3 separate regions of the Homo sapiens genome follow, and regions 1 and 2 are each linked to region 3. Evidence: promoter capture Hi-C in 16 types of primary human blood cells and fetal thymus (Javierre and others, 2016). All regions are on one chromosome and are shown on one strand. The core of a region is centred on a gene start or on the middle of the fragment in contact, and the rest is flanking DNA. Distances in the headings are between cores, read along the strand shown. Region 1 has its middle 2.3 kb from the start of TRS-GCT6-1. Region 2 holds the start of TRX-CAT1-4 (tRNA-iMet (anticodon CAT) 1-4). Region 3 holds the start of H4C3 (H4 clustered histone 3).

Evidence for each region. The method cuts DNA at HindIII sites, captures the fragments that hold promoters and counts their contacts. A CHiCAGO score of 5 or more calls a contact.
Region 1: a fragment that was not itself captured here is called in contact with the fragment with the promoter of H4C3 in region 3 in 1 of 17 cell types (monocytes); the score reaches 5.3 in monocytes.
Region 2: a contact is called between a fragment that was not itself captured here and the fragment with the promoter of H4C3 in region 3, in 1 of 17 cell types (monocytes). The highest score is 5.3, in monocytes.

What each region holds. Positions count from the first base shown.
Region 1 is chr6:26,306,306-26,309,374 of GRCh38, reverse strand. No RefSeq gene overlaps it. Among named protein-coding and RNA genes, the nearest start is that of TRS-GCT6-1, 2.3 kb to the right of the region's middle. The HindIII fragment of the contact is 1,384 bases long and covers 933-2,316 here.
Region 2 is chr6:26,328,582-26,331,744 of GRCh38, reverse strand. It overlaps TRX-CAT1-4 (tRNA-iMet (anticodon CAT) 1-4), which reads left to right and starts at 1,373; the gene lies at 1,373-1,444. It overlaps TRW-CCA3-2 (tRNA-Trp (anticodon CCA) 3-2), which reads left to right and starts at 230; the gene lies at 230-301. It overlaps LOC101928743 (a long non-coding RNA gene), which reads left to right. Exons shown (of 3, transcript XR_241992.5): 1 at 1-18; 2 at 2,658-2,735. The HindIII fragment of the contact is 1,422 bases long and covers 716-2,137 here.
Region 3 is chr6:26,102,553-26,105,340 of GRCh38, reverse strand. It overlaps H4C3 (H4 clustered histone 3), which reads right to left and starts at 1,408. Exons shown (of 1, transcript NM_003542.4): 1 at 1,004-1,408. The coding sequence starts at 1,393. The coding sequence ends at 1,082. RefSeq lists enhancers at 1,046-1,736, 1,761-1,870. The HindIII fragment of the contact is 10,429 bases long and covers 1-2,788 here.

The sequences.
Region 1 (3,069 bases), core at 375-2,874, 200 kb before region 3:
ACAGAGTCTTGCTCTGTCGCCCAGGCTGGAGTGCAATGGCACAATCTCATCTCACTGCAACCTCCACCTCCCGGGTTCAAGACATTCTCCTGCCTCAGCCTCCTGAGTAGCTGGGATTACAGGCACCCGCCACAAAGCCCGGCTAATTTTTTGTACTTTTAGTAGGGACGGGGTTTCACTATGTTGGCCAGGCTTGTCTCGACCTCCTGACCTTGATCTGACCGCCTCAACCTCCCAAAGTGCTGGGGTTACAGGCGTGAGCCACCGCATCCGGCCTATTTATTTTTTAAAATAGGGTCTTACACTATCACTCAGGCTGGACTGTAGTGGCACAATCATAGCTCATTGCAGCCTCAAACTCCTGGGTTCAAGTAATCGTTCCCTGTCAGCCTCCCAAGTAGCTAGGACTGCAGGTGCACACCACCATCCCTGGCTAAGACAACGTGAATTAAATGTTTTTTTGCAGTTTTGGATATCAGAAGTCTACAATAAAAGTATTAGCAGGGCTGTGTATCTTCTGGAGACATCATGAGATAATTCATTTTCCTGGCGTTTTCAGCTTCTAGTGGCCCCTTCCTTGCATCACTTCTTGCTTCTGTAGTCACATTTTCTTTTCCTGACTCTGAACCTCCTGCCTTCCTTTTATAGGACCCTCTTGATTACATTGGACCCACTTAGATAATCCAAGATAATCTCCCCATCTCAAAATCTTCAATGAAATCCCATCTGCAAAATTCCTTTGACCACTTAAGGTAACATAAGGTAACTTATTCACAGGTTCTGGTGATTGGTTGTGGACCTATTTTGGGGGTCATTATTTAGCCTACCATACCCTTTATTAATAAATAGCAGGCATTTGTTAATGCTCTTTAGATTTAATCTATTGGTCATGGCTTTTTTAAAAAAGATAATGTATAGATTTACACCAAGCTTATACACAAGTCTTTCAATAGGAGAATCTTATGGAAAGGGTCTATGATGTAATGATTAGCATCTGAACTCAGACTTGGCAAATTTATGGCAATGATGTCTTGTATTTTTACATTCTCAACTATACTCCCTTTCAGCCATAGGATCCACTGCTCTCTGGCTGATCAGGCCTTCCTGCATGTATTAGTTATCTGTTGTATAACAAATTGCACCCAAATTGGCAGCTTAAAACAACAGACACATATCTCACATGAGATATCATGAAAGTAATATCCTATCACATTTTTTATATTCTGTAGGTTAGGAGCAGGTCACTAGATCCAGCCAACATTCAAAGGGAGGAGTTTACACAGGAAGTGTGGCCACCACACTGTTAAACACTGTAAAGACCTCAGGGCAGAATAAGCCCTAATTGGAGCTGGTCTAATGCTATGACTGATATTTTGCAGACACCTTCTTTTGCTTGGTCAGGAAGTGCTGTATTGGGAGCAATTCCTGGTACCTTTTGGATTGGGAAAATTATCTCTTGCCTCACCTTTTTAAAACTAGTTTTCCATTGTGTATCTTCCTTTATGATCAAGCCAGTATTGAAGAGCTTGACTGCTACTCTCTTTTAATATCATGACTGAACAAGTGAATTAGAATCTATAGGGATAATGCCCTGACATGAATCCTTCTCAAAAGTTCCCTATGGATTCAAATGTGCAGCATGGAAAACCACTGAGCTAATTTTCCCCTGACCACCCTATTTAACTTGCCACCACTCCTATGCATATACCATCCTCTGACATACTGTGTATTTTGCTTTTTTTTTTTTGGTGAGACAAGGTCTCACTTTGCCATCCAGGCTGGAGTGCAGTGGTGCAATCTTGGCTCACTGAACTTCGACCTCCTGGGTTCAAGCGATCCTCCCTCCTCAGCCTCCTGAGTAGCTGGGACTACAGATGTGCACCGCCACGCCCAGCTAATTTTGGTATTTTTTGTAGAGATGAGGTTTCACCATGTTGCCTAGGCTGGTCTCAAACTCCTGAGTTCAAGGAATCTGCCTGCCTTGGCTTTCCAAAGTGCTATGATTATAGGTGTGAGCCACTGTGCTTGGCCTATATTTTGCTTTATAAGTTGTTTATTGCTTATTTCTACATAATTAGGTTTCACCAGGGCAGGGAATTTTGTGTGTGGCATATACATTTGTTCTTAGAACAATGCCTGGAACATACGCAATGCTCAATAAATATTCATCAAAACATTGAATGAATCAAAGAACTAATGAACCCTTCAGGTCCAGGTTTGTTTATCATGCTTTATAATTTCTAATCCAAACACAATCAAGACCAAGCAATAGTTTTTCTTTTCAGAACACTTTAGAATTTGTTGCTAACTGAAGCTTTAAAAAAATGAAAATTCGTACATTTCCTGGCCTGCTATGTTTTGATGGTGATTTGATACCTAATATGTCTGATATTTGTTAGGTAATTCCTTGGTAACTCCCTAGGGGATACAGTTTGAATCTTGATCATATTCTTAATTGCTTTGCTTTGCTTTGCTTTGCTTTTGAGACAGGGTCTTACTCTGTCACTCTGTTACCCAGGCTGGAGTGCAGTAGTGTGATTATGGCTTGATGCAGCCTCGCCCTCCCAGGCTCAGCTGATCCTCTCAACACAGCCTTCCAAGTAGCTGGGACTACAGGCACCAGCCACCACACTCGGTTAATTTTTTGTATATTTTGTGGAGTCGGGGTTTCGTCATGTTGCCTAAGCGATCCTCCAGCCTTGGCCTCCCAAAGTGCTGGGATTACAGGTGTGAGCCACTGTGCCCGGCCTTATTTTTTTAATGCTACATCATGTCAAAACACACACATACACAATATTATTGTTTTTGTAATTTTATTGGGTATAGGTGAGAAAACAGCCCCTGGTATCCAGGAACTGGTCTGACCGTATTCACTAGGCCTGCATATTGTCAGGAATCGGCCAGGCAGTCACTGCTAAGTCATGGGGTTCTTCTGTTTTGCCTAATTTCACAGAACATTAGCATCAGACTGACTTCTCTGATTGTGATGAAATGAGTCAGAAACAACCAAAGAAAGGTTGGACATGGTGGCTCATGCCTGTAATCCCAGTACTTTGGGTAAACCAAGGT
Region 2 (3,163 bases), core at 177-2,676, 230 kb before region 3:
ATATACAGGGAAAACTAGGTAAGAAACGGAATGAAATATAAACAAGAACAGGTGAAAATGAAGCAATTCAGAGGCAGAGAAAATCAGTGATTGGGCGGACAGCAATTTTACCGAGAGGGAAGCAGCTAGGCACTATTTTGTATCTGTTAATAGCTGCCTGGTCTTCACCAGTACCGAAATTATTTTCATGAATCAGATTGACAGGTAAATAAAACGTAGGTGTCCCGGAGACCTCGTGGCGCAACGGTAGCGCGTCTGACTCCAGATCAGAAGGTTGCGTGTTCAAATCACGTCGGGGTCAACAGTTTTTAGCTCGCTGGCTCAGATAACTGTATGGCGGGGAGTACATTACATATTACAGGGGGAAAAAAGTTGCTTTTCCTGCTTCTCTTAGGCACTTGTATACTCAGTTACTTTAGCCTCCTCAAAACTACCCCCTTCTCTTTTTTTAGTAGGAAGATATATACAGGAATATGTTATGGTATTTTGGGGCTTATTTCCGGGTTTATAGAGACGTTTTCACTCTTTTATTGCAAACATTCTGAATTATACTCTTCAGCAACTCATCCCTATTGTTAAACCCTCCTGGACTTCTCTCCATACTCACTCCCACGCCCGCGGCCTTATCTTTTCATCCATGTCTGTCTCTCCAACCTTCAGAAGCTTAGCAGATCTTCGCAGAGACGTAGTCTGGTTTGAGTGGATGACCTAAGCTTACCTGCTTCATATTTGGATCAGCTGTTCCAGGCTAAAGCGATTCCATTGAACTTCCCTGGATCTCTGCGATTTCCTCAACCCTCCCTGCAAATCACGGAAGAAGTCACTTGATTTCCAGAGGCAGAAAACCTGAATGCAGTTACTTTCTCAAATTCATACAGGGAATGAACCATTACATCAGAGAAGGCTAGCTATTCCGTGAACCCCCTTATAGTATTATCTGAAAATGTGCATGAATGTGCCGTTTTTTTCCCCACATGTGGCTCAAGACCCCCTACAGATTATGAATTAGCAAATTACAACATGGAAAAAAGGAAAAGTACGTTTATTTCTTCAGAAGTGTTTAAATTTTTATAACTTACAATGACTTTAAAACATGACATTTGAAATATTAGCAGATTTTCTCTTATGTATTTACTGTACACATTCACACAATACACAGTGACAAACATTACATCGGAGAAGTGTACCTAAAATAACCTTTTTCCTATTTCTTATTAACTCTTTTCTTAGTAGTAGTCTAAGCCTATGGCCATATTACGAACAGATTACTGCTCTGGAAAAAAAAAAAAGAGAGAAGACATAATTTTGAGATTTGGAAACTTGACACGCTAGAAAAAAGGTGACTATTAACTCTGGGACCTGTGACTCGCGTAGCAGAGTGGCGCAGCGGAAGCGTGCTGGGCCCATAACCCAGAGGTCGATGGATCGAAACCATCCTCTGCTAGGGAGCGTTTTGTGGATTTGTTTTTCCCCCTTCCAAAAATAGATCTACCTCATAGGAGGAGGAAATTGGTATAATTGTCATGGACACCGTAAGGGAACTTATTTTGATTTGCACCTCTCTCAGAGATCTATATCTCTGGTTGCAATACATTACTATCCTAATTAGATTAAAAATAACAAAAGCAGTAGTTTTAGCTTTGATTGTTTGAACAGTTAATAGATACCATGCACTATTCCAAGTTCTGAATCATTTATTCCTCGCAATTCTACGAAGTAAATACTTGCTATTACTCTTACTTTACAAATGAGACAAATTGGGGTTTGTCTGCAAGTTGGGGTTTGCAGAGGTTAACTAACTTGCCCAAAGTCATGCAGCTAGTAAATGGTAGAGCAAAGATAAAACTCTAAACCGCCGTTCTGCATAATTACAAACACTAATATTTACAGCAAACTTCAAAAGTTATTTCAGCTATTCCTTCCGAGTTTTATTAGTAGGACATGAACTCACCTAGTATTATTAAATCCCTAGTAAAATGAGAGGTACCATATGTGACATATAGTAACATGTCCAGATTTGAGCAGGCTGTAGGTGACACTTTTTTTCCTGTTCTTATTTTTCTGTTTACTCAAACTAATACAGATGCATAAGGAGACATGTTTAAAGTAGGATGAAATCTACAGACTGTGCAAAGCTTTTGAACTTTTGGAGAAATGTTTAGACAACTGACGAAATGCTTGGGGTTGAATTAATGAAAAGTGTCTAGAAGCTTAAGCAGTAAAACAACAAGAAAAGACAGTTATGTACTAATGCCGGGGAAAAATAAAAATTGCAAGGAAAGGAAAACTTAACAATGTATTTCTTTGCCCACTTGTTGAATTATGTTTATAAAGTTGTCATATTTTAAGCTACAAATATTAAAGTATCATGTATTGTGCTATAACCATATGAGAAGACTTAGAAAGGGAGCATGTGTGTGTCGGGGGTCCTGGGGTGTGAAGAAGAAAGTGAACCAGTTACTCCTCTTATATAAAGTCAACAGAAGGTCCATACAAACATATTATTTAGAGATATGTAGGTAAATAATTTTAAAATAAGCTATTTAAATGTTTAAAAAGTAGGCTTAACCACTCAGCCACGACTATAGGTGCCAAAAGTTTTCTTAAACGTCGTACATGTTATTATATGTCACATATTGTACCTCTCGCTTTACCAGGAATTTAATAGCTGAGTTCACGTCCTGCCAACAAAACTTAGAAGGAATCAACAAACTTCAAGTTCAGGCGCATATGTGGTAAGCTGAGAATGTTCTTTGGGTGTTTTCTATAATGCAAATCAGGAATATGTTTCAATAACTTTAAAAATTGCTAGAGGACAGGGAGCAGAGAAGAGACTTGATTTTTGTTTCAAGTGATTCTTGAAATTATGAGTATGCGAAAAGGATAGAAAAGAAACCAAAATTGTTTGCTATCTAGAAATTTTCTGTTTGTGAATTCTCAATCGTAACTCTCACAGAATGACACAAGGTTTTCCCAAACGGACGTGGTGGCTCACGCCTGTAATCTAGCACTTTGGGAGGGCGAGGCGGGCTGATCACTTGAGATCAGGAGTTCCAGACCAGCCTGGCCAACATGGCGAAACCTCCTCTCTATTAAAAATACAAAAATAATTAGCTGGGTGTCGTGGCACATGCCTGTAATCCCAGCTACTCTGGAGGCTGAG
Region 3 (2,788 bases), core at 159-2,658:
AATCAATAAGTTATGGTTCTTCCTCCAGTTCTGGGGATTATTAGACCACTTTTTTGTTTTGTTTTGTTTTGGATGGAGCCTCGCTCTGTCACCCAGGCTAGAGTGCAGTGGCACAATCTCGGTTCACTGCAACCTCTGCCTCCTGGGTTCAAGCAGTTCTCTGGCTCAGCCTCCCACGTAGCTGGGATTACAGGTGCCCGCCACCACGCCCGGCTAATTTTTGTATTTTTAGTAGACGGGGTTTCACCATCTTGGCCAGGCTGGTCTTGAACGCCAGACCTCGTGATCCACCCACCTTGGCCTACCAAACTGCTGGGAATACAGGCGTGAGCCACCGCGCCCGGACTTAGACCACTTTGTTTTGGCCAATAGGACAACAGCCATAGAACCCTCCGCAAATGAGAGCTTGTCCCTAAAGATGCTTTATTTACATAGCTGTGTGCCGCATGAGCCAAAAGGTGATAACCTTTGTTCAACACGCGCCTCCAGCCCTTCGGTTAAGTCCAAAGTACCATTCTTAGAATGCTCTAAAATACATAATTTTTTTTTTTTTTTTTTTTTTTTTTTTTGAGGAGTCTCTCTCTGTCTCCCAGGCTGGAGGGGAGTGGCGCGATCTCGGCTCACTGCAATCTCTGCTTCCGGGCTAGCTGGGCCTACAGGTGCAGACCACCACGCCCGGCTAAGTTTTGTATTTTTTTTGGTAGAGGGGGTTTCACCATTTTGGCCAGGCTGGTCTCGGATTCTTGATCTCAAGTGATACACTAGCTTTGGCCTCCCAAAGTGCTGGGATTACAGTCGTGAGCCACTGCGCCCAGCAAAATGCTTTTTGTGGAGCCAATCACTTTATTAGCGCTTACCTCTCTATGCCTACTTTATGCTTTGAAATTTTGTCACAGTGTGGCCGGTCATGGCAAACACAATTCATTCTTATGCAGGATGTCACGGTTATTTCTGTCATCCAAACTCATTCTCGCAACGCATTTCAGCTCTTTAAACGACTTTGTGAGCGGCCCTGAAAAGGGCCTTTGGGTTTTTTTGTTTTTGTTTTTTGAAGTTCTCAGGAGACCGCGTATTCTTAGATTCAGCCGCCGAAGCCATACAGAGTGCGCCCCTGACGTTTTAGGGCATATACTACATCCATGGCTGTGACAGTTTTGCGCTTGGCGTGCTCCGTATAGGTGACGGCGTCTCGAATAACGTTCTCTAAGAAAACCTTAAGCACACCTCGAGTCTCCTCATAGATAAGACCGGAAATGCGCTTGACGCCACCGCGCCGAGCCAAACGGCGAATAGCCGGTTTTGTAATGCCCTGGATGTTATCCCGGAGCACCTTACGATGGCGCTTAGCACCACCCTTCCCCAAGCCTTTTCCGCCTTTGCCGCGACCAGACATGATTCCTATCGCAGTGGAAGGTATGAACTGAAACAGTTCCTTAAATACAAACTTGGCGGACCTGATTGAAAACAACATGAGTTGGCGCGGTTTTTTTTTTTTTTCAAATTTGGTCACCAAGTGGGTGGAGCAAGAAAAACTGTTTCATTATGGTTCATTGTTTTGATTGGCCAGTGACAGCTTGCTCTTTGTGGGAGTGGAAGGGTGTTTGCAAGTTGAATGCGCTGTATTCCTGTCAGCTTAATGACGCTAAGCATAGCCCCATTCCACATTTCTTTTTATTTCCACTTGCTAACTAATAAATTACGGAATAGTTTATTGGGGAACATACAAATAATGTTTAAAGGAGGTCAGATTTATAGGTCAAGGGATTTACCCTCCCAATCATTTTAATATTTTTATTTAAACCAGGCATTTTGATGGCCTTCTCTGTGCTGGACAAGGTATAAGTTTGGCTATGAAGTTTCACTCCTAAAGACCCTATGTTTTGGGAAGGCAAAAAGGTAGCCAAATAATTGCAAATTAAAACCTCATAAGTGCAAACTTCTTCCTCGTCACTTTCCCTATCTCGATTCAAATATTTGTTGAATGACTCATTTTTCTGCAAAAGTCTGAGAGAGACAGGGAATATAAACTTAAGTCTGGATAATATGTTTTCCCGGGACGCTCTTCCTGGTCTGCTGTGCCTGTTTGCTGTGCCTGAAATTCCAAACACTCTTCCCTTCCCTCCGTTTTTAATCCCCTTTCAACTTGCTACAGCTTTAGAGAAAAGAACATTCGTTTTGTACAGTTGGGGATTAATTGAAGTGTAGGGCTAATACTTGATTAAGGTCATTACAAAATCTACAGGGTCTTCCTCTGGGAGGTTTTTGTGATAAGATTATTGGTGTTAAAATAAGGCTAATCCCCTTGAAAAATAAATAGAATAGCAGAATTGGGTCTGAATGTGGTTTGAAGAAAGGGACTTCTCAATTCAAAATTTTATTCTTAGCTTCCTGCGGGAGCTTTCCAGAATGCCCATAAGATCCACTTTTGTTTAAAAAACAAAAACAACCCCACCCACCACTCTCTGGTTAATAAATGAATTTCTATTGGGAATATTTAGAATGGGGCTGTGGCCTGTGAGAGACATTATATAGTAACCTCAGACTTGCTCACATGAAGAGAAGAAATCCAGGAATGGAGAAAAAAGACCCAGGAAAGGCCAGAATGCTCTACATGTCATATTGTTTGTATCACTTCTGAAATAATTGATTACATTCTTCTGCCCCAAATTGAGTTCTTAGGTTCTTCCACTCACTGTCCACATGCCACAACACAGACCTTATAACTAGAGACTTAGCTAGGAAGAAATGTCAAACATTACAGAGAAAAAATGCAGAGTCTGAGATCATA